4 separate regions of the Homo sapiens genome follow, and regions 1, 3 and 4 are each linked to region 2. Evidence: promoter capture Hi-C in 16 types of primary human blood cells and fetal thymus (Javierre and others, 2016). All regions are on one chromosome and are shown on one strand. Each heading gives the region's core, a stretch centred on a gene start or on the middle of the fragment in contact. The rest is flanking DNA. Distances are from core to core; before and after follow the strand shown. Region 1 overlaps CMSS1 (cms1 ribosomal small subunit homolog). Region 2 holds the start of TBC1D23 (TBC1 domain family member 23). Region 3 overlaps CMSS1 (cms1 ribosomal small subunit homolog). Region 4 overlaps CMSS1 (cms1 ribosomal small subunit homolog).

The links. The method cuts DNA at HindIII sites, captures the fragments that hold promoters and counts their contacts. A CHiCAGO score of 5 or more calls a contact.
Region 1: a fragment that was not itself captured here is called in contact with the fragment with the promoter of TBC1D23 in region 2 in 1 of 17 cell types (megakaryocytes); the score reaches 6.0 in megakaryocytes.
Region 3: a contact is called between a fragment that was not itself captured here and the fragment with the promoter of TBC1D23 in region 2, in 1 of 17 cell types (megakaryocytes). The highest score is 10.7, in megakaryocytes.
Region 4: a contact is called between a fragment that was not itself captured here and the fragment with the promoter of TBC1D23 in region 2, in 2 of 17 cell types (M1 macrophages and megakaryocytes). The highest score is 6.0, in M1 macrophages.

What each region holds. Positions count from the first base shown.
Region 1 is chr3:99,982,140-99,989,330 of GRCh38, forward strand. All of the region lies in intron 1 of CMSS1 (cms1 ribosomal small subunit homolog), which reads left to right. All of the region lies in intron 1 of FILIP1L (filamin A interacting protein 1 like), which reads right to left. All of the region lies in intron 1 of LOC105374010 (a long non-coding RNA gene), which reads left to right. Among named protein-coding and RNA genes, the nearest start is that of MIR3921, 21 kb to the left of the region's middle. The HindIII fragment of the contact is 2,595 bases long and covers 4,157-6,751 here.
Region 2 is chr3:100,256,354-100,263,532 of GRCh38, forward strand. It overlaps TBC1D23 (TBC1 domain family member 23), which reads left to right and starts at 4,639. Exons shown (of 19, transcript NM_001199198.3): 1 at 4,639-4,718. The coding sequence starts at 4,666. RefSeq lists enhancers at 4,043-4,711, 4,447-4,936, 4,712-5,380, 6,718-7,179. The HindIII fragment of the contact is 5,201 bases long and covers 757-5,957 here.
Region 3 is chr3:99,950,825-99,958,404 of GRCh38, forward strand. All of the region lies in intron 1 of CMSS1 (cms1 ribosomal small subunit homolog), which reads left to right. All of the region lies in intron 1 of FILIP1L (filamin A interacting protein 1 like), which reads right to left. The region is part of intron 1 of LOC105374010 (a long non-coding RNA gene); the gene reads left to right. Among named protein-coding and RNA genes, the nearest start is that of MIR3921, 9.8 kb to the right of the region's middle. The HindIII fragment of the contact is 4,266 bases long and covers 1,059-5,324 here.
Region 4 is chr3:99,968,247-99,975,837 of GRCh38, forward strand. All of the region lies in intron 1 of CMSS1 (cms1 ribosomal small subunit homolog), which reads left to right. The region is part of intron 1 of FILIP1L (filamin A interacting protein 1 like); the gene reads right to left. All of the region lies in intron 1 of LOC105374010 (a long non-coding RNA gene), which reads left to right. Among named protein-coding and RNA genes, the nearest start is that of MIR3921, 7.6 kb to the left of the region's middle. The HindIII fragment of the contact is 6,142 bases long and covers 1-5,270 here.

The sequences.
Region 1 (7,191 bases), core at 4,204-6,703, 270 kb before region 2:
AATATAAGTGCTATATATTTCGGTATATGTATTTTAGTATATGTTTTTTTAATAGTATTGTCTATATGCATGCATTTCTTATCTCTTTGTACACATCTTTTTTTATGCCTGTCATGCTTATACATTTTGCATCCACCAATTTAATCTGGGGCTGTGTATTTATGAATGAAGAGCAAACTTTCATTCACCATTAGGTAATTTTTTACTTTTTTTTTTTTGAGACAGGGTCTCACTCTTTCAACCAGGCTAGCATGTAGTGGCGCATTCATGGCTCAAACCCATCGTCAGCCTCCTGGGCTCAAGTGATCCTCCCACCTCAGCCTCCTGAATGGCTGGGACTACAGGCACATGCCACCACGCCCAGCTAATTTTTTTATTTTTTTATAGAATAAGAGTCTCTCACTCTGTTGCCCAGGCTGGTCTTTCACCCCTGGGCTCAAGCATTCTGCCTACCTCAGCGTCCCAAAGTGCTGGGATTACAGGCATGAGCCACTATGCCTGGCCCATTCAGCTAACTTTTTTAAAGTATTTTTGAATCACTGAAGTGCTTAATCATGGAAGTAACCAGACCACCATTCATTTGCATGATTCTGTTAATGCCATATATAGTATTTCATAGAATGATCCTTCCTCATTTTTCAAAAATGTGCTTATAAAATTTGTGATGACAATTGAACAGCCCAACCCTATGAAATGGTAATTTATGCAGCAATAAAAAATAAATAAATTCATATAATGTAGGCTTGCAGCTGAAGACAGCTGTGTTAAACATGTTTTTTAGTCTGTTACATCAAAGTAATACATACAGTGCTGTACGAAAATGTGTAGGGCGAATGTCTTTGAGGTGCCCACATATAAGCTGTGCTTTTGTACCCACTGTGTGAATATGAGGGAAGTCATTGTTCTGTACCCATCAGGAATAACACATGCAATGATGAAAATATTAAAAATGCCTTTCTTTCAGATGGTGCAGTCTTTTTACAGCTATTATCTCACTTGCCTTAAGTGCCATTTGAAAAAAAATTTCTCAGGGATATTGTTATCTAACTTCTTTGAATTACTGAAGTAGCCAAGAAATCTCTCTAGCACTGATATAAAGAAATGGAAGTACCAGCCGGGCACAGTGACTCATGCCTGTAATCCTAACACTTTGGGAGGCCAAGGCAGGCGGATCACCTGAGGTCAGGAGTTCAAGACCAGCCTGGCCAACATGGTGAAACCCTGTCTCTACTTAAAAAATAAATAAATAAATATATATATATATATATATATATATATATGTATGTATGTATGTATATATATGTATGTATATATATATATGTGTGTATATATATATATATATATATATATATATATATATATATATATATGTATATATATACACACACAAAAAGAAAAAAATTAGCCAGGTGTGGTGGCAGGTACCTGTAATCCCAGCTACTTGGGAGGTTGAGGCAAGATAATTGCTTGAACCGGGGAGGCGGAGGTTGCCATGAGCTGAGATGGTGCCACTGCACTCCAGCCTGGGTGACTGAGCAAGACTCAGTCTCAAAAAAAAAAAAAAGAAATGAGAAGTACCACATTATTTACCTAGAATCTCTGTTTCCAACTGTTCAGACCCCAATATTCCATGTAACTCTACCTGTAGCTAGCAAGAAAAGTAAAATCAGAGGATGAAAGCAAAGGAGAATGGACCATCTGATGAAATAAACTTATAATGTAGAATAACTTGCCAGAAGAAGTAACAGCACAGATTTGGTCACAAAACAGCCTAGAGGAAGGCCAAGAGAGGAAAATGTCCTATACCACAAGATATAAATCAGTTACCTAACAGATTTTTGTTGTTTTGTTTTATTGGTTAATCTCCTAACTTCTGTGATATGTTAATTAGCATGAAAAAGGATGTATATGTATGTGTGTTTGTGTGTGTGTGTGTGTTCAGCTACAAAGGTAAAAGAATATCAGGTGCTCAGGTATGAAATAATTGATCCATAGTTCTGGAAGTCCATCACAAATTGGCTTAAGCAGAATTTTTAAAAAGTGAAATTGGAATGTGATTGTTTGAGAGCCAAAACTGCATTCTTTGAGTATAATTTTACTAGTAGCCATTCATGTATTTATTATGTAGAGTGTCCTGTCAAACAAAATGAAAGGCTATATTTTGTCTTCTCCACATGTAATCTAGAGCCAAGAATGAAAACCACATAATATATTTTTAGGATTAAACCATTTATTACTGATAGATAATGACAGAGCAGAAACAGGAGGCACCAGTTAGTCTGCATTAGCTCATGAGCCTGGATAACTTTTTTGTGAACTCTAAAGATTTGTGAAATTCTATCATTTGCATTAACTTTCTGATAAATTTCTGATGTGGTCAGTGGTCCTCTAGCCCCTGGTCACTGAAACTCATTCTGCACACTGCCAAGAGGTATCTACCCTTAGAAGATCTTTGCCCAAAATTTCCCCCTTCAAGTGCTTTTTAGAAAGAATGAGCACCTTTGCCAAATCTACCAAGCCTCCTCTCTGGCCAATTACTTTGGCTACTGTGGGGGAGGGAATCCTAGCATGTAGGAAGATGTGTAGTAAGAATAGAAAGATCTATGTTTTACTCAGAATTCTGCCTGGTTGAGAAGGTAAGATAAGTATATGATAAAATCAAGGATCATATTCAGCTAATGTTTATTGAGTACATTCTTTGTTGCCAAACATCAGCCCCAAAGCACAGTATATAGATATTAACAAACACAGGATTAGGTTAATAAGGAACTTGGACAACTGGAATTCCCAGGTTAAATAAACTGAGGATATTGCTCTTAGAAGAAAAGATTTAGTGGAAATGAGATAACTCGTGTTAAAAATAAATACTTAAAGGGGTTGCCGTGAGGAAGGTATAAGGGGCAGGGTACCAGGTATATATGGTTAGAAGTTGCATATTCTGCTTATCCTTTTTTAATTTAAAACACAGACTACTAGAAATAAAGTTCAAAAGTTAATTGGAGTAAAGAGAAGATTGAACAAAAAATCATCCTAGGGGGTCAAAGGTTGTTTTAAAAGGTTGAGAAAACTGCAATTGGTTCTCTAAAATTAGTCTCAAGAAAGTGATCTAGGGCCCATCATGGTGGCTCACGCCTGTAATTCCAACACTTTGGTAGGCTGAGGTGGGCAGATTGCATGAGCCCAGGAGTTCAAGACCAGCCCGAACAACATGGCGAAACCTCATCTCTACAACAAATAGAAAAATTAGCTGGGCATGGTGGTGCACGCCTGTGGTACTGGGGAGGTTGAGGTGGGAGGATAGCTTGAGCCAAGATCATACCACTATACTTCAGCCTGGGTGACAGCAAGACCCTGTCTCAAAAAAACAAGGTGAGCTTGCCAATTCATACTTTTAAAATTAAAGTCTGATATTTCTCTTCAATCTTGTGAATTTCTTTTATAATCATGAGAAAAGCTTTTTTTTTTTTGAGATAGAGTCTCGCTCTGTTGCCCAGGCTGGAGTGCAATGGCATGATCTCGGCTCACTGCAACCTCCGTCTCCTGGGTTCAAGCAATTCTCCTGCCTCAGCCTCCTGAGTAAATGGGATTACAGGCACCTGCTACCATGCCCAGCTGGTTTTTGTATTTTTACTAGAGATGGGGTTTCCCCATGTTGGTCAGGCTGGTCTCGAACTCCTGACCTCAGGTGATCCACCCACCTCGGCCTCCCAAAGTACTGGGATTACAGGCGTGAGCCACCGCACCGGGCCTGAGAAAAGCTTTTTAAAGTTCTGTTGGATATATTCATAAAACACATTGGGGGTTAAAGTCAGTATGACCACAGAACACATTTGTACCACAATACTTTGATACTAATAGGACTTAATGAGATACAGTTTGCACGTGGACCCAAGTCAACAGCAAGAAGTTTATTCACAGATAAATTAATGTCTATAAGATATTAAAATTTATTTCACTTGTGTTTTCATTGTTATAAGAGGAAAAAAGATAGAAAATCTAAATTGTTTTTATTTTAATAAGAACCAGATATCTCAAATATGTTCAAATTATAAGATGTAAAGATAGCTTACATCAATAGAATGGTTGGTAGATGTTGCTCATGCATCAATCTGTAAATTGAATGGGATATGTCCCAGGAACAGGTGTTTTTTCATGAAGCTTGTGGCATTAGATATGCCCTCCACTCCATTGCCATAAAGACATATCATTGTAAAATAAAGAGAATAGTATGTGTGCTTCAGGGGGTTTTGCATATTTTTTAAATAAAGAAAAAGTATATCACTGGCATACATTATTTTTAACAACACAGTTTTAGACATACTAGTGACGGTTAGTTTTTCTGAAAGTTGATAGTGAAAGAAATAGACGAGAACAGGAGTTACAGGGCTTATATGAGGTTGGTAGGTATATTTTTATTTTTTTAATGGGGAGAATTAAGATACTTGTTTGTCAAAGAGAATTACCAACTGCACATGGAGAGAAGAAATTGAAGAAATTGATGAAGATTAAATGAAGTGGTGATGGGTGTGGGCCTAAGAACTCAAGTAGAAGGAGGAGAATGGTTCTTCCTCTAGTCTAGTGGCCCTAAGCGGGGGATTCTTTTGCCCCACCCCCAGGGGATGGTAGGAAGTATTATGGCATCTAGTGAGTAGAAGCCAGGGTTTCTGCTAAATGTCTGCAGTACAGAGGACAACCCTCCACAGCAAAGAGTTATTCAGACCAAAATGTCTATAGTGCCAAGGTGGAGAAACCCTGATCTAGTTAGGAGGACAAGAACATATTAGGAGAGTATACAAAGAAATATTTAGGCCAGGCACAGTGGCTCATGCCTATAATCCTAGCCCTTTGGGAGGCTGAGGTAGGAGGACTGCTTGAGCCCAGGAGTTCGAGACCAGCCTGGGCAACATAGTGACACCCCATCACTACAAAAAAATACAAAAATTAGCCAACCGTGGTGGCATGCACCTGTAGTTCCACCTACTCAGGAGGCTGAGGCAGGAGGATCACTTAAGCCCAGGAGGTTGAGGCTTCAGTGAGCCAAGGCCATGCCATGCACTCCAGCCTGGGGGACAGAGTAAGACCCTGTCTCTTAAGGGGAAAAAAAAAAGGCCAGGCACAGTGGCTCACTCCTGTAATCCCAGCATTTTGGGAGGCTGAAGTGGGTGGATCATTTGAGGTCAGGAGTTCAAGACCAGCTTGGGCAAGATGGTGAAACCTTGCCTCTACTAAAAATACAAAAATTAACGGGGTGTGGTGGCATACACCTGTTATCTCAGCTACTCGGGAGGCTGAGACAGGAGACTCTCTTGAACCCGGGAGGCAGAGGTTGCAGTGAGCCAAGATTGTGCCACTGCACTCCAGCCTGGGTGACAGAGCGAGATTCTGTCTCAAAAAAAAAAAAAAAAAAGAAAGAAAGAAAAAATATTTAAGTGCAAGAGATTATTTAAACTAAGGGAGTTTGAACCCTCTGGCCTTAATCTTATTAAAATAGAAAGCCACATGTCTGACAAGACTAACAATTCTGTTATTAACATGACCCAAAGTCAGAATTAGTTTAGCACAGTCCCAAGACCTCAGTTATTTTCTTCACAGGTGCATGTAATGAAACTTTTTTGAAATTCCATTTTAAATTGCATGCATATGTCCAATGAGCAAGTCAGCAAAAAGAAATGTTTTTATTAACTTAAAAAATAACATTCTAGCAGTAAACATTTCATTAACTTGATCTGGCAAACAATAATGCACATAGTTCTAGAACAGAGCTGCCAGTCTCTCATCCTGTTGGATTCTTGAAAGATGTTGAGGATACTGTTCTTCCAGGCCATCATTCTGTTTCTTAAGAATAGCTCTTTTTTCTCTAATCAAATGAAAGTAAAAAAGAAGCTGGTACACCAAAATGTAAGGTTAAGCTGTAATTTCATTGCTTGTCAATACATACTTCTTAAGAATCTTCTTTTTATATTCTTCAGTTTCAATAACTTTTTTTTCTATAAGTGAACAAAAGCTAAAAGAATTGTGGGATCTTTTATCTTTATTTTAATCCAACCATATATTCTTTTTAGAAAGTCTGAAATTTGGCCGGGCGCAGTGCCTCACGCCTGTAATCCCAGCACTTTGGGAGGCCTAGGCAGGCAAATCACGAGGTTGGGAGATGGAGACCATCCTGGTTAGCATGACAAAACCCCACCTCTACTAAAAATCCAAAAAAAAAAAAAAAAAAAAAATTAGCCAGGCATGGTGGCATGTGCCTGTAGTCCCAGCTACTCAGAGGCTGAGACAGGAGAATCGCTTGAATGTGGGAGGCGGAGGTTGCAGTGAGCCGAGATCATGCCACTGCACTCCAGCCTGGGCGACAGAGCGAGACTCCATCTCAAAAAAAAAAAAAAAAAAAGAAAGAAAAGGAAAAAAAAAGAAAGTCTGAAATATATCTTCAATTCTGTAGGTTTCTCTTATAAGAAAAACTTTGTTTTAAAGACCATTTCCAAAGTCCAGTTGTATTTTCTTGGTTTGATTCTGACTGGTAGTTAGATGATGCAAACAAAAAAGAAATTAACCCTTTCTATTTGTTTCCTTTAAACATAAAAAAAGCATTGTCTGGATTGCCTCTATAACTTTTACAGAAACATAGTATAATAACACTTAAACTTCCACCATTGACCCATTGTTCTTGGGCTGTTCTTTCATTGGTAATTTTTATTCCAAATCTGGCAGGTGCCTTCATTCTCCTGGCTTCTGCCTTGGTTTCTATTAAAGCTTCTTTCAGCACTCGGAGTAATTGGGAACTTTCTGTTTTCAAATTTCTGTACGGAATTATCAGAAGTGTAGTGTGACTGTGTCTATACCTTTAGAGCAGGTACATTTTTTATGGACTTCAAAGGAAAAATTAGGAATTATTTTTCTCAACAAATTCTTCCATCTCATAAACTTACTTAGCATTTGTTTTGTGATTCACTCACAGTTCATAGGGTGCTTTCATATACATTATCTTGTTTGGACCTAGCAACAACTGTATGACATGGGTATTATAATTTTCTTGGAGATAAATTAAATGTAAGTTTAGTGAGGCTTATGACTCCAAAGCTCACAAAGCCAACCTCTGTTCTGATTCCTGCTTTATATGCTCTGGTCTGAGTTCTGCTCTGCTTTCTCAGGGGCTCTTGACTGCATGTCTAGGATTCTAGGTACTAAATG
Region 2 (7,179 bases), core at 3,389-5,888:
CAATTTAGCTTGGGTATTAGAGAAATCAGCTTGTAAATAACATATCCAGATAAATTGTAATATATACCTATATTTTTAACACAAATTGTCAAAAGCGTATATCATATAATTCCATCCAATTACCTTAGATGATTCCTTGCTAACTATTTTATTTGGCAACACATATATATACCAAAAAGGAAGGGTGAATACAAGTGTATAAGGCAAATGGAGATAAATTATACATCAAGAATAGCACTGCCATTGTCTGAAGGATACTATTTTCAGATTGTGTCTGTATGTGTGTGCGTGTCCTTAGAGCCGTTAGTTCATGAAACAGCAGGAAGTTCAGTTTTAAAAACTAAGGCTAGTTCCAGCTAACATATTGTTTACTATCCCTATTTCCAACCAGGAATTACTCAACCCCAATAAAAGCCTTTTGCCTGGAACATTTGGGAACAAAATTGGAATGAGCAAAGGGTTAAACAGACTCCCACATTAAAGCACAAACATCTCAAACCTAAGAATGGGTCAATCCCTATCCAAATGTTTATTTTGGGTCCATCTATAAAACCTATTTAGAGTCAACTTCAATTAGAGAAGATGACTACTAGAAGGATAATGCAGAAACAGAGTTTCCAGCTTTTTTTTTTTTTATCAGTTTGCTCAACATTTTAAAATGAATTAAAAGCAGATGTTGAAATTGCTGCCAACTGTTCACTTGTCATCTGTGAATGGGAATTAACTGGGTTTTGTTCATCATTCAATCAAATGTTAAGCTTCAGTAGTTTAAAGAGCCTGGGAATGCAGGTCCTGATGGGATTTTAAAACGACAAACAACTGAAGTAATTTTGATAAGTGTGAAACCATTTGTCCTTGTAAGATAAAAAGGGAAATTCTTGGGAAAGTTTAGAATTCTGAAACTCTCACACAATAGCTGCAGAAACAAAAATCAATATTTTGTTATTTAACAAGAACTCTTAAGCACTATCTATATGTTCTGCCCTGCATTTGGTGCACTGGAGGCTACAGGGGAACTTAAAAATAGTTGTCATTCTCAGAGTTAAAGAATATAAGATGCTGTAGTGCCCAGATGAGAGTGCCTGTTGATGGTCCTAAACTAGGTCAGAGGCGACAGAATGTAAGAAGGGCTGAGATGATATGAGCAGGAATCTCAGGGGAAAGTTTCACTGAACAATGAAGAATGTGTAGGATTTAATATTACTTCATGTGGCAGCCAGCCTCTGAGATGGCCCCCAGTGATTCTTGTCTTTGGGTATTCAAGTCTTTGTTGTGGTTCCTTCCCACATTGAATAAGGCTTACCAATAAGATATTGCAGAATTTACGACTTCTGAGGGTAGGTAATAAAAAAAATGTTGTAGCTTCAATCTTGGTCTCTGTTGAACTCTTACTCTGCGGGAAGCCAGCCACTATGTCAAGAGGATGTTCAAGCAGCCCATGGAGAGGCTCATTTGGGGAGTATCTGAGGCCTCCTGCTAACAGTCAACACCAACTCATCAGGCATGTGAGTGAGCCACCACGGAACTGGATCCTCCAGCCCCACTGAAGCCTTTAGATGACTGCATGACTGCAACCCTGGCCAACATCTTGCCTCTGACCTCAAGAGACCCTAAGCCAGAACATCTAGCTAAGCTGCTTCTAGATTCCTGATGCACAGAAATTATGAGTTAAGTGTTTATTGCTTTAAGACATTGAGTTTTGGGGTAATTTGTTGTGCAGCAGTAGATTAAAACATCTTACTAGGTCTTTGTCTTTATCTAAGAATGCACGAAAGTCAAGAAAAGGCTGCACGAATATGGAATAAATGATCAAGAGCTATGTTATTTCTCCATCTCTTTTTAACAAATGCTAAAATAATATTACAATGAAAACTGAATTAAATTCTACTCACATAACAACTATGACTATGCAGATGAGTTCATAATCCTTACCTGTCCCTGAACCCAACCAGCCATTTCTATATAGGTGAATAGCTTAATCCATTACAAAAGTACTACAAAAAATTCCCTAGTTCATTTTACAAATATTTATGGAGATTCTACTATGTGTCATAGGCATGGTACAAATTAAGTACATGTAATACAGTATAAATTACATAATTATATGGCTCAGAACACCAAATAATAAATGAAAAATCTTTTTATGTTCTCTATAATTTAATTTAAAACTAAGACATTTTAATTTTCTTGTTATAAGAAATACGCTTTGATTTTATCCAAGGATAATATGAAATAATACACCTTCCCATTTGGATGTGGGAACTACAATTAGATGCACAAATGCAAGCAGGGGACGCACTCCAAGATTTCATAATGAAATCTTCTCTAGTTCTTGAAAAGCATTTTTGTTTTGTTTTAAGCAGAGGTCCATTATTAGAATTTAACAAATTCTACTTGAGGGAGTGAGGCCCTGTCTCAGAAAAATAAAAATAAAATAATAATAAAGAAAAATGGTTTGGCCAACATGGCAAAACCCCGTCTCTACTAAAAATACAAAAATCAGCCGGCCGTGGTGGCACACGCCTGTGGTCCTGGCTACTTGGGAGGCTGAGACGGGAGAATCACTTGAACTTAGGAAGCAGAGGTTGCAGTGAACTGAGATCATGCCACTGTACTCCAGCCTGGGTGAGAGTGAGATTCTGTCTCAAAAAAAAAAAAAAAAAAAAAAAATCCGCTAGAAGACACTATCGCTAAACAATTTTGGTTGAAATCTTGTCCCCAATGGGTTATACATCACTAAGATATTGACCCTATCTAGAACTGGCTCCCTAATTTGTGAGGCCTAGTGCAAAATTAAAACCAGTGGCTCCTTGTTCCCAAATTATTAAGAATTTCAAGATGGCAACACCAGAGCATGAAATCAAGCACAGAGTTCTTCTAAGCATGTGGTCTCATGCTATTGCATAGACTACATGCCCATGAAGCTGGCTCTGGCTCCATTAAAGAACATAGAAGTCAGAACTTTCCACTTTATTTTGACAGAATAAAGAACTGTTTAAAAATGTCAAGTGACATATTTTTAATGGGAAAATATTTTACCAGAGACTATAAAGCAGTTGCTGATTTAATTATACTCAAAATGAATCATAATTGAGGACTAGAATCTTCTTAACCAGTGAGCAACTGCTTCTCATGTCAATGACTGAATAGGTTTTAAAACCATTTTCTGAAAAGTTTCTGAAAATCTACTGGCAACAATTGAAGGGACCCAGGGGAGGTCCTGAATATTAGAATGGTAATGTGACCTAGATTCACGTCTTTTATTCTTTTTGATAGAGGGCATCTACAGTCTCATTCTATGTTAAAAGAAATGTTCCCTAACAGAGAACTGAACATTACAGAGATCCGGGCCTTGGAAGTGGGTGCAGTACCATGCAGATCTGTATTATTTCCCTTTAGGGAAGAGAGTGAACATGTTTTTGGTTGTAAATGAGATAGCTGTACTGTTTTGTATCTATTTAAAACAAATAGTTTTTGAAACTATGAAACATTTTAGATACCTAAGTATAGACTCTATAAAGAACACTGGCCACCTATGTGGCCACCTTGGGGCCCTTAATAAATATTTAAAAATTCATGGAAACTCCTCCCTTTCCCTGAATGTAACTGCCATTCCGAGTTTTCTATATATCATTCTCCTGCATTTTAAACTCATATGGATCTATTTTAAATATATTGTCTTTTAAACACCAACTATAAATGATACCATACTTTACCTATCCGTCTGCAATCTGTTTTGCTCATTTAACAGCGTATTTTTCAGATGTATCCATATTGTTACATGCAGTTCTACTTCATCACTGTTGTTTTCAGGGCTTGCAAAAGCGTTTCTTTAGGTCCATCCTCCTGAGCGTGTGCTCACCCCAAGGCCCCGGCGGTGGCCAAGTGTCCGCCCATGCGGTGTAAAGGGGAAGTGGAACGCGTAGAGAAGGATTTTGGCAGCTCTGCTTGCCTGGAATTCCAGTCCTAGAATTCTAAATTCGGACTTGATCTTCCAGACTGTTAGGAAGATATATTTAAGGTAGGAGGCTAGAACGTATCTCCTTTAGTATATAGCTTCATTTACAACTTTTAAATATTCAGTCAAAAAGTATGTGGGCCTTCATTTACACTTTTGACGGGGCCTCACAAATAGGGGTGGTCTGCCCCTTTCCTTACGTCCCACTCTTTCTTCAAATTAAATTGCTACAGCAGGAAATTACTGAACTGTGGCTCTTCTCCTACGTCCGCCTTCCCTATGTCAATTCCCATTTCCCTTGCTTTCTCCAATAGTTAGGACTGTAAATTCTAACTTTGTTAATTTCGACGCCAAGCTGGAATGAAGACGCTAAGTGGACGCTAAAAAGACACGCTGTTTGTCACACAAGGCCTCCAACTGGGACGGCGTCCACCGCGCCCCGCCCCGCCCGCGGCACCGTGGCATCTTGGGACATGTAGTCTTTGGAGGGGCAGCTGCCTCCACCAAGTCTCCTCCCCCAAGACGCTGCCTTTCGGCCTCGGGACGCCGTGACGTTGCGTTCCTCCAGTCCCTTGCCACCTCCCTCTTTCTTCCCCTCTGGGGAAGCTCAGTGCTGGACTTCCGAAGACCTTTTACGACATTGAGTCTCGGAGTTGGTCTCAGCGCCGGATCCACTTTTCGGCAAAGTGACGTGGACGTCAACAGCAATGGCGGAAGGAGAAGATGTGCCGCCGCTGCCAACGTCGAGCGGCGACGGCTGGTGAGTGAAAGCCGGGGCTAATTTCCAATGCCCCTTTATTCTTCCTTCTCACCATCTTGCCGGTCCCCGAGGAGCCGTCTGGCGTCGGCATGGAACGGAGAGGCCGGTCCTAGGCGAAGTCCGGTGCCCTGCCCTACCCCTCTGCCAGCTGGGTGCCCCCTGCCTGCCTGGTTCTGCCCAAGGGACTGGGGCGGGACTCCCAAGGAGAGGGGTGTCATCCAGGTGCTGGGCCTCAGAACGGTCCTCCTGTGTCGTCTGTCAGTCTCCAAAGTGTGCTGGAGTGGGTGGCTTCAGGGCTGGGTTTGGCCGGAGTCCTGGCTGTGGGAGTTGGAGTAGGCTGAAGAAGGAAGTTTGTTGGATGCAGATCTGAGTCACTAAAATACAATGTGAAGAAAAGACGTTTTGAAATGACCACTGCGACCTTCGCCTGAGGGTTCAGAGGTTGACCCGAGGAGAATCCCTCCCACTTAGTTGGTATACTTTTTTTTATTCTGGCTGTTATCTCGTTTTGCATTCCAACAGTTTTCATCGTTCGTCTCCTTCACGCAAGTCATCTTTTCCCCTACTACCACATTTCTCACAGCTCGATTTCTGAGCTTTGGATGCAGTGTGGGACTTTGCTCTTACTGCACCCAAGCTGTTGCATGCTTACCTGATTTATACTCGGGATTGTGGGGGAAGACCGCCAATAATTTTTTGGTAAACTGCTCACCCAGTGTTAATCTTTGGGAAAGGCTTCTACTTTTGAAATAGTTGATCTCACGATACACTGTTAGGTTGTACAACATCATTTTTTAAAAAGGGACCTTTAGAGGCTTGTCTAAATTTTACAGTTGATCTAAGTGTATTGACCACATGTATTAGTTTTGGATTTGCTTGTTCGTTATATTGTATGTGTACAGCTCATGGGCACTTTAAAAATAATACAGGACATTGATAGACATCGACTTTAATCCCAGAGGAAAAAAATGGAAATCGTTGAAAGGGATAGATAATTAGTAATTAAGAAATTCAGCTCTCCATTAGCAGACATCAAACATTACCGTAGCGCTGGGCTCTCCAAGGTGTCAGAGGAAAACTTCATGGTGATCTAGATATAGTTTTTTTTTCTTCAACTTGCTTATGTTGGAGTTGGGAAGGTGTAACAAGGTAAAATTAATCTTATTCTTTGTGAGTGTGATTCAAAGTGTTACGAGAGGTTGGCGGTGGGGGCTGGGGCAGTTGGAGTCACTGGGGGAAAGCTTCATGAAAGCAGCAGTGTTTCAACTAGGCTTTGAAGAATAAGTAGGATTTAAGCCCCAGGGCTGTCTAATAGAAGCCACATATTGTAATTTAAAATTATGTAGTAGCAGCATTTAAAACTGAAAAGAAGGCTGGGCGCGGTGGCTCACGCCTGTAATCCCAGCACTTTGGGAGGCCGAGGCGGGCGGATCACTTGAAGTCAGGAGTTCCAGACCAGCCTGACCAACATGGTGAAACCCCGTCTCTACTAAGAATATAAAAATTAGCCGGGCGTGGTGGCGCGTGCCTGTAATCTCAGCTGCTTGGGAGGCTGAGGCAGGAGAATCGCTTGAACCCGGGAGGCAGAGGTTGCAGTGAGCCGAGATCGAGCCACTACTGTCCAGCCCGGCGGCAGTGTGAGGCTCGGTCTCAAAAAAAAAAAAAAAAAAAAAACACTAAAAAGAAACAGGTGAAATCAGTTTTAATAATCTATTTAACATATTTCAACATGTAATCATTGTTTAAAAAATTAGATAATTGTACATCTTTTTTGTGCCAAGTCTTCAAAATCCAATGTGCATTTTACAGCTACCTTATATTTCAATTTGGTCTAGCCACATTTCAGATATTAAATATCCACACATGGCTTGGAGCTAACATATTAGTGCAGAATCAGATTAAGAGATGGGAAAGGCCTCTGAATGGAGTAACTTTCATGCGCGTCCGTGTGAAGAGACCACCAAACAGACTTTGTGTGAGCAATAAAGCTTTTAATCACCTGGGTGCAGGCGGGCTGAGTCCGAAAAGAGAGTCAGCGAAGGGAGATAAGGGCGGGGCCGTTTTATAGGATTTGGGTAGATAAAGGAAAATTACAGTCGAAGGGGAGTTGTTCTCTGGCGGGCAGAGTGGGTGTCCCAAGGTGCTCAGTGGGGGAGCTTTTTGAGCCAGGATGAGCCAGGAAAAGGACTTTCACAAGGTAATGTCATCAGTTAAGGCAAGGACCGGCCATTTACACTTCTTTTCTGGTAGAATGTCATCAGTTAAGGCGGGGCAGGGCATATTCACTTCTTTTGTGATTCTTCAGTTACTTCAGGCCATCTGGGCGTATACGTGCAAGTCACAGGGGATGCGATGGCTTGGCTTGGGCTCAGAGGCCTGACAGTAACAGCATAAGCAAGGGCATAGACAAGACAACTAATTTGTTTTGAGAGTAAGAATGAGAACTACCTGGTTGGAGAGA
Region 3 (7,580 bases), core at 1,942-4,441, 310 kb before region 2:
TGGCCCAAGATTAAAAGGAGAGTAAAAATAAAGAGAGAGAGAGAGAAAGAAAGAGAGAAAAACTGATCACGGAGACAGTAGTAGCTGGAGGGAGGGGAAGGCTGTCACCCAGGGATTATTGGGTTTGACTCTGCCCTTGGAATAACTCAAAACTTGTTAAGAGGGATCCAAGCCCTGCTTGGTTTGGCCCACAGTTTCACCTCATGCCCCTCCCTTTGTCACTCTTTCTGCACCTAACGTGCTGGCCTTGAGTTAAGTCACTTACACTTAACTATTTTCTCTCTCACTCATAGGCCTTTGCCTGTGCTGTGCTCACTGCTTGGGCCTCTTCCCTCAGCTGTTCACTCAGCTAACTCCCACTTAGCCTTCAGCCCTCAGCTGATACTTCCTGGAGAAGTCCTCCCTGACTTCATAACCACATTATACACTCTAGTAGCACTAAGACCTCCTTCTTCTACCAGTAATTACAGTAGCTATTTTACTTACATCTATATTATTATCTAAAGAATTTCAACCTCCCCCACTGAACCCTTAGTCCTGTGGGTACAGGACGTGGTCTGTTTGCTCACGGATACCTTGCGCATAGTATGTACTCTGTCGAATGAATGAATGATTGAATGAATGAGGTTGTCTTGAAAGTCATCAAATGATGAGATTTTGTTTTAGTCCAGTCTCCCTGGTAAAAATCGCTTGGACTTGACCTAGTAGAGCTCATGTATTTGCAACTCTGTGAGATAGTAGACTAAGAAAGATGAGAAATAGTGATGAAGCAAGTGTTTTTGTACCATCATTGCTGCCTGACCACCTCCCCCACCACATATACACAGTCCCCACTATGTTGGGCTTGGCCACCTTATGTCTCTTCCCTAATGACATCCAGTGACTAATTGACCCAATAGGTACCCTTAGATCATGGGTCAGCAAACTCTTTCAGTAAGGAGCCAAACAGTAAATATTTTAGGTTTTGCAGTTTCTGCCACAACTACTCAAACTCTATCTTTCCAGAAAGCAGCTATGGAATGATATACATGTGAATGGCTGTGGCTATGTTCCAATAAAGCTTTATTTACAAAACAGCCATATTTTGCTGACCCTTGCCTTAGATGAGGTTCTGAAGTAATAGTGAGAGAACCTATAAGTAAGTCAATCTGCAAGAATACCTGCCCCCACACCCTTAGTTGAAATTTATTTTAAAAATTACTGTTTATTCCAGTGGACCATATGTAACTGCACATGTGACCTAGGGCCAACTCTGAAGCTGTTAAAGAGAATATATAGATTTGGCACAGGCATCACCAGAGGTTGTTAAGAGTCGCACAGACCACAGTCTCCTATAGATGTGTTTTTTTTTTTCGTTGACTTAATAAGGGGAATAAGGGTCAATTTCTATTTGAGATCTGATATAGTCTCTGATCACAAAATTTGTCTCCTAAATCAAATTAGGGCAGTTTCAATTGGATTATTTTGGCTTAAGCTAGACATCTAAGGTATTTTCATAATGAGCAAATTATCACTATACAATTCAAACATTTTCCTCAGCTGTTCTTCTGCCAGTCATTATGTCTGTTCAAGTTGAGGAAACAGAATAATTTTCTGGCTGATCCTACCCCAGCCCCAAAAATTCCAACTCTGAGAACCAGTGTAAAGAATTCAGGATCTGTGTGGAGTTCATTCATGGTTGGCTTAGTCATTGTGGAATAGAAGCCACAAGGAATGGATCATTTACATTCTCAGTTTATTAAACTTCTGGTGCTAGAAAACACTATGCTTTGGTTCTTATAGGCATAGATACACGGCTTTTAAACACATACACACAGAGAGAAAGAGAGCACTGTTCAAGAAGCATGAATTTCCTCTTTCTACCCTATATTTTTAAATAATATCTATAGTTTACTAGCTTTGAGTGAAGAAGGGAAAAAACAGAAACAGTTATTATTAAATTGCTCATGAATATTCCTAAGAAGAAACACAAGAAAACGTGTCTTACAGATTTTATTTGAATTAGTTAAGGATAATTTCAATCTTTATATGTTGGATTGTTTTTCTGCATAATGAAAAAAAGAATGCTATAGAGGTATACCCCCAAAATGGGCAATGGATTGTAGATAGTTTTGGAAATAACCCAGAATATAGCCTCTCATTGATTTGGTTTTTGTCACTGAACTGAGTGGTCTCTGAAGGTGGATTTTCTCATGACTGTTCCTTTTCTCTATCAAGTGCCAGAACTTTTTTAAAAATTGTCATCTTGATAAAAATATATTTTAAAGTAATTCATACTTAGCTGCATACTTAAAGGTCAATGCTATGTATATAAACAGCATATGAAGTATTAAATAATATTATCTTTTTGTATTTCATTTTCTACTTCCTCTGTGTTGTCAACAATCATTTATTTATATTGGTTAAGTTATTGGTTAAGCTATAACCAATCGTTTCTTTGTTCCTCTGACCTGCTTCTACCTTCTACCCTATGTCTAGTTTTTGCTTCTAGACATAGGGCAAACCAATGAAATTCTAAGGAAGTAGAATTTCTTAGACTGAGAAATCAGATAACCAATGAAATTCTAAGGAAGTGAAGTAGTGCAGAGGTTCTGAGGGTGCAGTTTGAGGTACAGATGCCTTTATGTCACTTTGTCTGGACTGGAGTTGTATAATTATTATGTCCTAGGAAGGTGGCAGTTGATCTGTCTCTATTTCATGCCACGTTGGACCATTTTACCTTTGAATGGGGTCCTAAATCCTTGCATTTTTAAAGAATTCAATAAAATCCAACCAGTCTTTTCTAAGATGACTTTGTGAGGGCTGTTCCTATTGTCTTGCTAATAGGAAGATGCTATAAATATATTTGAAACACTGATTACTTGTCATTTCTACTGGAATGTGCTTTTCATAGATAATGAAACCACAGTGATGGCCTTTCCTAGAAACTCAGTCTATACTGACAGAGAACTGCCCAAACAGTCCACATAGGCAATTAGCTAGCTTATTCAGTTGTGCCCTTTCATGAGGAATCCTGTCTTCCTTGATCCACAAATAGTCTGCCCATGCTGGAGGCAGAAGGCACCAAGGCATACCTCCCACACTGACCTGCTCTGTGGTTGACCAGTGCCTCTCTTCCCACATTGTAAGTCTCTTAAAGCTCCCCTGCAGTCTTCTTAGAAGTTGCATTCCTTATTTTTGTTGCACCCTTAAGAGAGTTACCTTGTTGTACATGTGACCCTCAAGGAGGAGAAGGTGGTGGCATCTCAGTTTGTAGCAGCCTTAGGCTAAGCAAGCTGTATGAGGGCTCATCTCACTTAACACTTCAGTAACTGTGAGGTACAAATATTGGTCTTCATATTTCACAGGTGACAAACTTGAAGATCAGGAAGCTGAAGTCCATGCCCAACATCACATAGCTAAGAAATAGTAGAGCTGGGCTTTGAGCCCAGGTCATCTAATTCCACAGCCCAGGTTCTCTCTGATACCCCATCCTGCTGCCAAGAGGGAGTATAATATTCATGCTAGACACACTTTGGGCCAGTATCTCACATAATAATCCAGCCACACTGTGAGATAGGTATCATAATGGCTCCCAGTTTAACACAAACAAGGGACATTAGGAAACTTGATGACAGTCACTCATCAGTTAATGGCAAAACCAGAAAAAGAACTCAACCTCTGTTTGACTCTCAGTTTCTCTAAGCCTCAATTTCCTCATTATAAAATAAGAATAACTGGGCTGGGCACAGTGGCTCACACCTGTAATCCCAGCACTTTGGGAGGTGGAGGCAGGTGGATTACTTAAGGTCAGGAGTTCGAGACCAGCCTGACCAACATGGTGAAACCCCGTCTCTACTAAAAATACAAAAATTAGCCAAGCATGGTGGTGCCCACCTGTAATCCCAGCTACTCAGGAGGCTGAGGCAGGAGAATCGCTTGAACCCGGGAGGTGGAGATTGCAGTGAGCTGAGATCACACCACTGCACTCCAGCCTGAGCCACAGAGCAAGACTCTGTCTCAAAAAAAAAGAAAAAAAAAAGTCACAACAGACTGTTAGGATTATTGTTAGGGTAAAATGAAATAATTGAAGTGCTAAGCACCACGTCTGGCATAAAATAAGCCCACAATAAATGTTAGCAAAGGCAAAATCACTTTGAATAGAAAAATCCTGCCATTCTCCTCTCATCTGTTTTGCCTCTTACAAAGATTCCATTATATAATGGTAAATGAAAGGGTATCTTCTCTCACTTAAAACAGAAAATTAGATCAAGTGCTGGGTAATTTGTCTTTCATCACCTAAGTGATTACACAAGTGGTTTCAAGGCCCCTTTCAATTCTATGGCTGTATCATTCTAGCAATGGGGTGCTGTTTTTTCTATTAAGAACCTGCAGGTCAGAACTCAAGTCTTCTCTGTAGTAATAAAGTGGCATGCTCACACAGAGGATGGAACAGAGCTATTAGCAAAACTTAGTAAAGACTTTGATTTTCAGAGTTGTAAATGACAAGGAGTATAAACAGAGACCTACGGAATATTTGTTTCTCATGGAAAGATACCTACAACATTTTTAAAAGATGAAAACAAAGGCTAGATAATTGATTTTTTTAGCGAAGGCATTTAAGAAAATATTTGCTTTGTGCTTGGCTCTGGGGGATAATAGAAGTAATTATTAAACCGGAATTTAGTGGCCCAAGTTGAATCAGGAAGCCAGTTCCTCAGAACAGTTCCCAGCAATGCTTGAGAACTCTAACAAGATATACAGCCAAAGCCAGACACTTTTTTACTTGTGAAAGACTGTGAAAAAAATTAATCATATTTTCCTGGAGCTCCGTTAGTCTTGCCTATCAAACTCTTTGATGATAATGAAATAACTTCCTGGAGCATTGATGATGAAGATCCTTCAGTGCCAATGTATTTAATTGCTTGATTTTACATAGAGTATGGTCATGTACCTTCCTTCCACATTAGTGTATCCTGGAAGGAAATAAGATGGAATTTCGAATGGCCTGTTCTCCATTTTCACAGATTACAGATATTCCCCCTCCAGGAAACTACATCCCATCCCACCCTTGAATTAAACGCATCTTCTCTGTTCTCCCATATAACCTATGTAGACTTCTTACATAGCGCTTACCACATTGTTATGACGTATTTACTTGCCTAACTCCCGGACTTGACCTTGGAGTCCTTGGCTAGGTTGTAAGGTGCCTGCCACTTCAGAGTTATTCAGTAAGTGTTCATTGACTGACACGTTTTTAAGTTTCCAGCTTCAAATGGGTCCTGTCAATAATAGATTTATTCATTCCTTATTGCCTCTGTCTCATTGCTAAGCCATGATTCCAAAGCTTTAACACTCTTTTCATGCCCTTTCTTCCACTTATTCCTTAACCACTCTCACCCTTCACAAACACCTTCACCTTCCTCACCTTTCTTCTTTGTTGCTTTCCTTCCTCTGCCCCCAACACCTCTTCACATCTTTACACATGTTCTCCTTTTCCTGTCTTTGGAAGTATTGCTCTTGGTTTCCGATTCTGTCCCCTCCATCTAAGCTTTGTTTGTTTTTGTGAGATGGACTTTTGCTCTGTCACCTAGGCTGGAGTGCCCTGGCATGATCTTGGCTCACTGCAAACTACGCCTCCTAGGTTCAAGTGATTCTTGTGTCTCAGCCTCCCTAGTAGCTGGGATTACAGGCACCCACTACCACACTCGGCTAATGATGAGATTATAGATGGGGTTTCACCACGTTGGCCAGGCTAGTCTCGAATTCCTGACCTCAGATGATCCACCTGCCTCGGCCTTCCAAAGTGCTGGGATTAAAGGCGTGAGCCCCCGCGCCCAGCCACCTCCATGTAAGCTTTGGATCATAAGCATCGCCTCTTAAATCTTGCCCATCAAATACCCCCTTCCCTTCTGTAGCTGTAGTTTCTTTCTCACTATTGGTTCTTTTTCCACAACTTTATAACACGCCCAGTGGTCCCACTTTCTAATAAAATCTCCCTTTCCCTGCTCCCCACTCTGCCAGTTTCTCTTCCATCTTCACATTGCCTGAATTCATTGTACTCATCTCCTAATTTCCCACCCCCGACTTACAGTCCAGCTTCTGCCCTCACCAATGGCTTCCTAATTTCCAAATCCAGGAACCTCTTCTTAAAGAGGTCTTCCTACCTATTTCTGTCCAGGGCTCTAGCTGGATTTAATAATGCTGTCTTTTTCCCAGCTGCCCAAGCTAGAAATCTTGATGCTATTTTGTACCTCCTCTTAACCCTGCTTAACATACTGTAAGAATAAAAATACTTGTGTTTATGTTTGTACATTTATTTTTTATTTGATATACAGCAAAAAAAATACTGTATGAAGTAGAGGAGTGACAAAACATTCATCAGGGTGATCTGATTTGGCAGTGAAAGGGCCAAGCCGGTGATAAAGCATGGAAAGTAGTAACAGCAGCGAATGAACCACATGCATTGTATGCATAGCAGCTATTCTTAAGAATTCTGATTTCCACATATTCTAAGCATTAACAGAAAGTATTTAGTTGAAGAAAGCCAACCCAACCAAGACTTGAAGCCAGAATGTTGTTTTTTTCACAAATAGTTGTGATATTTTTGAAATGCTAACACAAAATTATGTATCTACACATATGTGTGTATATATATATAGAGAGAGAGACATGAAAGATCCTCATTAGGTTTCTGTGTGGTAATATCATCAGACATCTTTTAAGGAACAAAACAGTGCTCTTAATCACTTCTTTAATACCGTAAACAGTTGGAATTTTCACCCTCTGGGGCCTCCTATGAACCTCTGCAGAGTAGTTCAGCCGTCAGACTGGAAATTAAGCTAATCAGTAGTTACTTGGCACTTCTCCTTTTCTCTTTTCTTTCTTTCTTTTTTTTTTTTTTTTTTTTTTTTTTTTGGTGTGTGTGTTTGTTTGGAACTTGTTTAATGAAAACACAGGTTCCATTCAGTGATATAAAGCAGCACATCACAAAGCTTTTTCACACATAGCTTGTTTTTAGTTCTTAGGCCTGGATATTTGTATGTTCTTAATATAGGCCTAATAACAGCTGAAATGTCATTTTTTAGATTCAACAAAACCTGTGTTTGGAACCTGTTTAATGAAAACACAGGTTTCTTTCAGTGATATGAAACAGCACATCACAAAGCATTTTCCAAGATAGCCTCTTTTTAGTTATTAGGGCTGGATATTCATATGTTTATATAAAGGCTCAATGGGCTCAGAAATGTCACTTCTTTTTTTTTTTCAATTTAAATTAATTTAATTTTAATTTCCAGGATACATGTGCAGGATGTGCAGGTTTGTTACATAGGTGAATCTGTGCCGTGGTGGTTTGCTGCAGCTATCAACCCATCACCTAGGTATTAAGCCCTGCATGCATTATTATTATTATTATTATTATTATTATTATTATTATTATTATTATTTGAAGGTAACATGGAGGTTTAGTTTGAATTTAAGAGAACAGTAACAGAAAGGGAAAATAACCAGCCACCCAGGGTCTATTTTTAACTGCCACGGCTTGAGCAGAGCCATGAAGAGAGAGAACTAGGGCCTGTTAATGCCAGCCATGAAAAAGC
Region 4 (7,591 bases), core at 950-3,449, 290 kb before region 2:
AGTGTTTAACCTTCTTTGAACAAAAAAATGGCAAACTACAGAAAGTTTGGTCTTATTGTAGCCTAAATTGTACTTAGGGGTACGAGTGAGAAACAGGGATTAAGATAAAGGACCTGTTTTGCTGTCTTGTTTACTGTTGAATAGTAGTATGAAGTAGGTCCTGAAAAACTATGTTTTTGGGGGAAAAAAAAAAAAAAGACTGAATGATATGTTGGGTTTAAGTCCTTGCAGGCAGGCTATCCAGGTAAATAAACATGGAAGGTGATGGGAGGTAATCTGGGCTGGAAATACAGATTTGGAAGTCACCCCATATCAGTGGTGTTTAAAATCAAGAGCAAATGAAATTGCACAAGGAGAATATATAGAATGAACAAATTACCATGGGTGAAGCCTTGAGTAATACAGACATTTAAGAAGCAAACAAAAGACAAGGAACCCATGAGGGAGACTGGAAAGGAAAAAACAGAGAAATAAGAAAAAATGAGAGGAGAGAATTGATACATTTTCCTCAGGTGTGGCATTATGGAGTTCACTGGTGTCTCATCAGAGAAGTTTCAGTCCAGTGGCCAGGGCAGAATGACATTGTGTCTTGTTTTAAAGTAAATGGGTAGGGTAAGAAAGTTGAGAAGGGTTAGCACAAACCTCTCTTTCAAGTCACTTGCCTTAGAAGAGAAGGAAGGGTATGGTTTCTGGGGTGCAACCCAGGTTCAAGAAGCAAAAAGAAAAAAAAATTCATTTGATAAAAGATTTAAATGGGTTTCTGGGCTTAGAGGAAAGAGTAAATAGGCACTGAGAATTTAAAGATTTAGGAAGTAAAGGGGATAATTAATGGAGCTCGGTCCTGGGAGTGCTGAAAAGGGGGGCCATGTGTGGAGGGCAGGGCAGGATCTTGACCTGGAGTAAGAATACCTCATCCTGTCATTGAAAGAAAGTGCACAAGGACAGGTCCAGGCATATCTAAGAAGGGGAGGGGAACAATATTGGGATAATGTATGTATAATTCTCTTATTGAAGTAGAAAATGATGTCATCTGCAGAGAAGGATGTAGCCTTGTTTGGGCTCTTGAGCAATATGACAGTTTGGTAACATTGCTTAGTAAAATAAGAGCAAGCTAAGCAAGAATGAGTAGGAGGTTGAGCCACGTTGATGGCCTATTTGAGATTGAGGACTGCAGATTTATATAGTTGCGTCAATCTGAAAGCTGACTTTTTTTTCCAGCTGAGCTCAACAGATTGGTCACAGAAATACAGAAGTCTACGTTTGAATTGATTCTAAAGATATTAGTGAAAGAATGGTTGAAGTAATGAGCCGTGCTATCCCAACTGGGTAAAGCAGTGAGGCCAGGAAAGAGGTCAAGGAACTATGGTTTTCCAGAGATTGGAGAGCAGAGGTAGTAAGGGCAAAGGCACGGGGAGCCTGGAAGGATCAGAGATTGTGGTCATCTTCACATAATGGATAGGAAGCAGCCCCACTAGATAATTAGTTGCAGGGTTTGACCTTGGAAATCTGTGACCATGGAGATGAAGAAGGTGAGGAATTTATAGTTTATTGGATGGCTTGTCTAGATGGATACTGAAGTCACTCATTGTCACAAAGGGTATGTTAAAGATTGTTGCCAAGTGCCCTAGTCATGAATAAGTGTTATGGAGGGACCAGGATATTAGCAGGGGGACATCAATGAGAAAAGATAATTGGATAATATGAAATTCAACAAATGAGGCTGTTACATCAGAGGCATTAGGGAGTAATGGTTTAGAAGCATTATAAAAAGGAATAATCAGTTAGGCATTGGCTTAAAATTTGGATAAGCCATATAAACTTGTTGATATTTGAGTATTTTGACATATAAAAATAGTAATTTCATATGGTTCAACCTCATACTTTGCGTGCATTAAATCATTCATTCTCACAACTACCTTCTGAAATGGGTTATCATTTTGCAGCTGAGAAAGTGAAGGCATAGAAATAATAAGTAATTTGCCCAAAGTCATCTGATAAGTTTTGGAGCTCAGTTTCAGACCCAGGCAGTCTGGCTTTAGAGGCTGCAATCACTCTGAATAGGGAATGCCCACCTTACCCTCACTGCCCTTCAGGCCTTCTGGTGTGTGAGGTGGATGAGACCAAACTCCTCTTAAGCATGTAATAACTGAGATAAATGCTGTAAAGGAAATGAATGTGGTTCACTAGTCAGTTTTGAAGTCTCATTCTCACATACTCTGTGCTTCCCCACCCTATTTGTGTTCGCTTTCACTCCCAAACTACTTCTACCTAATTGCAGAACACTTTCTCTACATTTTGCCTAACTGAAACCTAGCATATCCCTGCTTTCCTTGTAGTTTACTAGTAGATAAGTAGGAAAATAGTTCTAGACCTTGCATGTACAGGGTCACAAGAGTTTAAAAAGAGCAAGGAAAACCATTCAGTAAATGACAAGACATTCTGTATATGGGATATGAACTGGGCTGGGAGAGAGGTAGAGTACTTAAGAGAGCGTGCTACGATAGACCTCAAAGGACTTTTTACCATTCTAAAGACCTTAAACATTATACTATCTGCTACAGCCAGCCACAGAAAGATTTTAAGAAGCAAAATGTTGTGAGGATATTATAGATAAATGTTGGTGTGGATGCAATTAAAGGGAAAAAGACTAGAGGTGGGAAGATGGGTTAGGAAGCTGTTGCAGTCATTCATGTGAAGGAATAGGGCTTGGCAGTGCTCCTACCTGTGTGATTGAAGAGGAGGGGCTGTATTCACAAGATATTTAACAGCAAGGATTGGCAGGTTTTGGTGTCTCTTAAGAGAATATGGGGGCTGGGCGTGGTGGCTCACGCCTGTAATCCCAGCACTTTGGGAGGCCAAGGCGGGCGGATCACTAGGTCAGGAGATCGAGACCATCCTGGCTAACATGGTGAAACCCCGTCTCTACTAAAAATACAAAAAATAATTAGCCGGGCCTGGTGGCAGATGCCTGTAGTCCCAGCTACTCGGGAGGCTGAGGCAGGAGAATGGCGTGAACCCGGGGCGCGGAGCTTGCAGTGAGCCAAGATCGTGCCACTGCCCACCAGCCTGGGTGACAGAGCCCATCTCAAAAAAAAAAAAAAAAGAGAATATGGGATGCTGGAACCCATAAGTGAGATCACCACACAAGGAAAGAAGTCCATTTGAAAGGAGAGATGAGGAGTCCTCTTTTCTACATGTTGAATATGAGATGTCTGTAGAATCTGGGTAGAAATACTGGTATGGGACTCAGGAATGAGGTCTCACAGGAGATGCAGATGAAAATATGTTAGTATTGCTTAACCTCTCTAAGCCTCACTTCCAAAATTCCCACTTCCTCCATCAGCTTTTGTCTTGTAGCCACTCCCTGATCTAAGTTGGTACCAGAGTATAGGGACAGAGACCTGAGTGAACTGTGGCTTTAGACCTGCTTTCATCAGGACCTCACACTGTGGACTCACAGGAGTCTGTATGGTAGGGTCTAGGATACACACGGAACCTCAAACTTCTGAAAGGAGTCCTCTCCCTGCAACACCATTCCCATAAAAGAGAACAGAGTCGGTTCCTAGCTTGAATGAATGAATGAATAATGACGTTGGGGCCTCTGGATATAGATCATTCTAAAAAGCACCTATATACTCTTTTGGTAGGATTTGGTACAGGTAGGATTATGTAAACCTGGTTGCTGACCTAGATATATGTAGTCTTGTTGGGAAACATGGATTAGTCATAAAATTAGCACACTGACATGGAGTATAGTCAGCAAATGGATAAGATGGTTAAGTATCTATAATATAGTTTGACTAAGCAGTTAAGTGAATCAGTACGAATATTATTGAGAGGAACCTGGTTCTGACAGATATAAGGTAGTGATATTGCAGACATATAAAAATATAGACTGATATGCAAAGTGTGGGGAAAGATGTCATTCAAACCAGTCTTTTTATGGGCTTAATAAATTTGATAAGGGAATAGGAAGAAAGCTAGTCATCTCTTTCCCTTAGGTTGAAATAAACTTGACCCAATAGAGTACCCTAGTTTTGTTCATTTGCCGAATTGACTTAGATGCCAGGGATTTGCATGTGGAAAACTAATGCCATGGCAGGATTACTAGACTGTAAATTCATTAAGAAGTCTGATGATATCATAAACCGTGAGAAGCCTCTGTCTTGCAGCAGCATCGGAAACGTCCCCGTCCCCATTTGAGTAAGTGCTGGTAATCCATTTTATTTCTCTCCATTAGTTATTATAATAATAACAGATTGGTGACACGGCCTCATTTTCTGCCTCTAGTGCTGTCTGCTGCTGGGCACAGCTGCTCCCAGTCATTCTTTCCAGAGTAAATAACGGTTCATGTTTCCATGGGCTGTCGCGAGAGCTTTCTGTGCTTATGAAATGAGCCCATGTCACCACCCTGTTGGGAAAGATTGAAGGCATGGGCAAAGCCAAGGAACTGCATGGGAAAGCCAGAGCTTTACCCCTACCCTAAGATATGTTTTTTGCTCTTGAAGACATTTAGATTAACTGGGTGTTAATGATGTTAACTTCCATAAGTGTGAGGCAAGAAAATTCCATCACTTGGCATCTGTCTGATGCAGGCCTTTGGCTTTGGAACTTTTTCTTTCATGTTAGATGTAAATAATGAACTCCTTTGTTGTGAGAGGGTTTGTTACAAGGAAGTAAACACATCAGCAAAGAGCATCTTTTGATCTTCACACCTTTGGCAATAAAAGCTGAGAGCAGAAATAGGCCAGAGAATTTGGGACAGAAACCACTAAAAGCTCCCCTTTTATCTGTTCACAAAATTAGGTGCAGAACTATAGGAACAATGGATGGAATGACAATTATTAAAAAAGATGAAGGGCAAAATGAGGCCACCTGAATAATAAAAGCCAAGGTTTAGATTTTATGATCTGCTTTAAAACTCAGTGAATTCTCTGAAAAACTAGGAGCATTATATAGAAACATCATAAACAAAATGAATAAAAATTTTTTTTCTCTTCTTGTGATCTCATTAGTGGATGTTAACAAATTTTAAATATTCATTTGAGAATACATGTTATAAGAACACTGATTTTCTGTGTGTGTATGCAAAATTGCAAAAACTGGTATGTTTTAATGCCTTAATTATGTGACTCTTGTCTCATGATCATTAATTCAATCCTCTTCTAAACATCAAACCACATATTCATATAAAATAGAAATCTAAAATATGCAGTTATAAATACATATGAAAATTCCTCTGTCTTTTTTTTCCTTATTTTGAAAGTTTAAGCTTTATTGCCAGGTTTTATTGGTAGAAAACTAATGTTGCTTTATTTCATGAAAGTTATCAACATCCTCCCTTCAGATCTTATAGAATTTATACTCACATCCTATAGGTAAGTAAATAGATTGAGGAGGAAAACCACTTCTGTAAGAAGAATAATAAACACACTTCAAACTTGATGAAAAATAAATGGATCTGCACTCAAAAACCTATTTAAGCTCACTTTTTTCCCCCAGTTTGGGTAGCTTTATAATGAAGGCAGAGATTGGGATGCAGGTATCATGTTAGATGTTAAATACCTCTATTCCTAGGCCTGGTGTTTGTTGTTGGTGGTGGGTGGAGGGATGGTTGCTCTAAGTTTTAGGTGTTCTTGATAGACAATATATAATTGATAAATAACTTTTCAAAGATCTTGCATTGTTTTCTGTTTTATCCCACTGTTTCCTGTAACCCACAGTTCCAAATAGCTGGCTGAATTGCTGTGTGATAAAAGGAAATCTGAGACTAAGTACCAATTCCTTCCAAGTTTAAGAACAAGAAGGTTTTCTGAATATTTTTCAGAGGCAGACTGGGGAACTATGTTTCTTTTTAATGGTCTTTTAATTTGAAAGTTAAACTAAATCCTTCTAATTGCTTGTAGGTATTGGACAATATGAGTATTTCCATTGGATAACATGGAGAGGACAATTTATCATTGAAGGACTTGTCGTTTTTATCTTAGCTGAATAGGGTGCCAGTATATACAGTTCGTGCTTTCAAGCACGGGTTGATTTATTATGGTTTGGACCTGCAGTTTTTAGAAGGGATCACAACAGGATTTTTCTTTGTAAGTTTAGTAAAGCCCATTTCTTACCTTGTTGACTGTCACTATCAGGTCAAAAAACTTAGAAAGCAGGAATAAAAACTCATTATTTGGGCTGGGCGCAGTGGCTCACGCCTGTAATCACAGCACTTTGGGAGGCCGAGGCAGGTGGATCACCTGAGGTCAGGAGTTCAAGACCAGCCTGACCAACATGGAGAAACCCCGTCTCTACTAAAAATACAAAATTAGCCGGGTGGTGGTGTGTGCCTGTAATCCCAGCTACTCGGGAGGCTGAGGCAGGAGAATCACTTGAACCCAGGAGGCGGAGGTTGTGATGAGCCAAGGTCATGCCATTGCACTCCAGCCTGAGTAACAAGAGCGAAACTCCATCTCAAAACAACAACAACAACAACAACAACAAAAACTCATGTTTGGAGTGGAAAAAACCTGTTGTTTGATGACATGTAGTTAAAATTCATTTACTTATATTCAAATAAAGATAATAATTTAGTCCTTAGGAGATGAACATTTCCATATTCTCTTTCCTACCCCTTGGCATGGGCTCTTGTGTTTGCCATACCAGGTGGATTCAGTCCAAACTCTGTAAACCTGGGCGTGTTATTTGATCTTTTTGAATGTGCAAAGCTAGAAAATAATACCATTTTCACAAGTTCATTAAGACACATTTATGACAAAAGATCAACAGTCATTAATTACAGTTAATAACTCTGAGTGACTGCTAATGTTCCAGGAACTATACTGAGCATCTTAGATTATCTAGATTAAGCCCAGTGAAGTACCTTTCACCTAGCAGGCATTCAACTTCCACCTGCTTCTGTTCCTCCCCGCTCCAATCTACCAGATTCCTCAGGTGAAAGGAATTTCTATTTGTTCACATATTACTTCATCCTTCATTCATGCATCCATTCAACAAATACATACTAAACTCCTTCTAGTTCGAGGAACTGTTGTAAGTGCTGTGGATATAGCAATGACCAGGAGAGACACAGTTCCAATGGTCAAATGTTCTAGTGCAGGAGACTGACAACAGACAGGCAGTGAATTCAAGGAGTTCAAGACCAGCTTGACCAACATGGTGAAACTCTGTCTCTGCTAAAAATACAAAAATTAGCTGAGTATGGTGGCGGGCGCCTGTAATCCCAGCTACTCGGGAGGCTGAGGCAGGAGAATTGCTTGAACCCGGGAGGCAGACGTTGCAGTGAGCCGAGGTCACACCATTGCACTCCAGCCTGCAAATGAGACTCCGTCTCAAAAAAAAAAAAAATTGATACTTCATGTGGAAATAAGTGCTATGAAAAAGAGAAACTAGGGTAAACAACAGAACTGAGAAACACAGAGGAAGAGAGCGTTCTGTTTTAGACTGGTCTAGGAAAGGGACATCTCAGCAAAGTCCTGAGTATATACTCATATCAAGGTCATTCTAATAGTGACATTCTTACTCAAATTGAAAAGTCGTGTATATGTTGAGTTGTAGAAGGAAAGTTTAGAACAATCAACAGCAT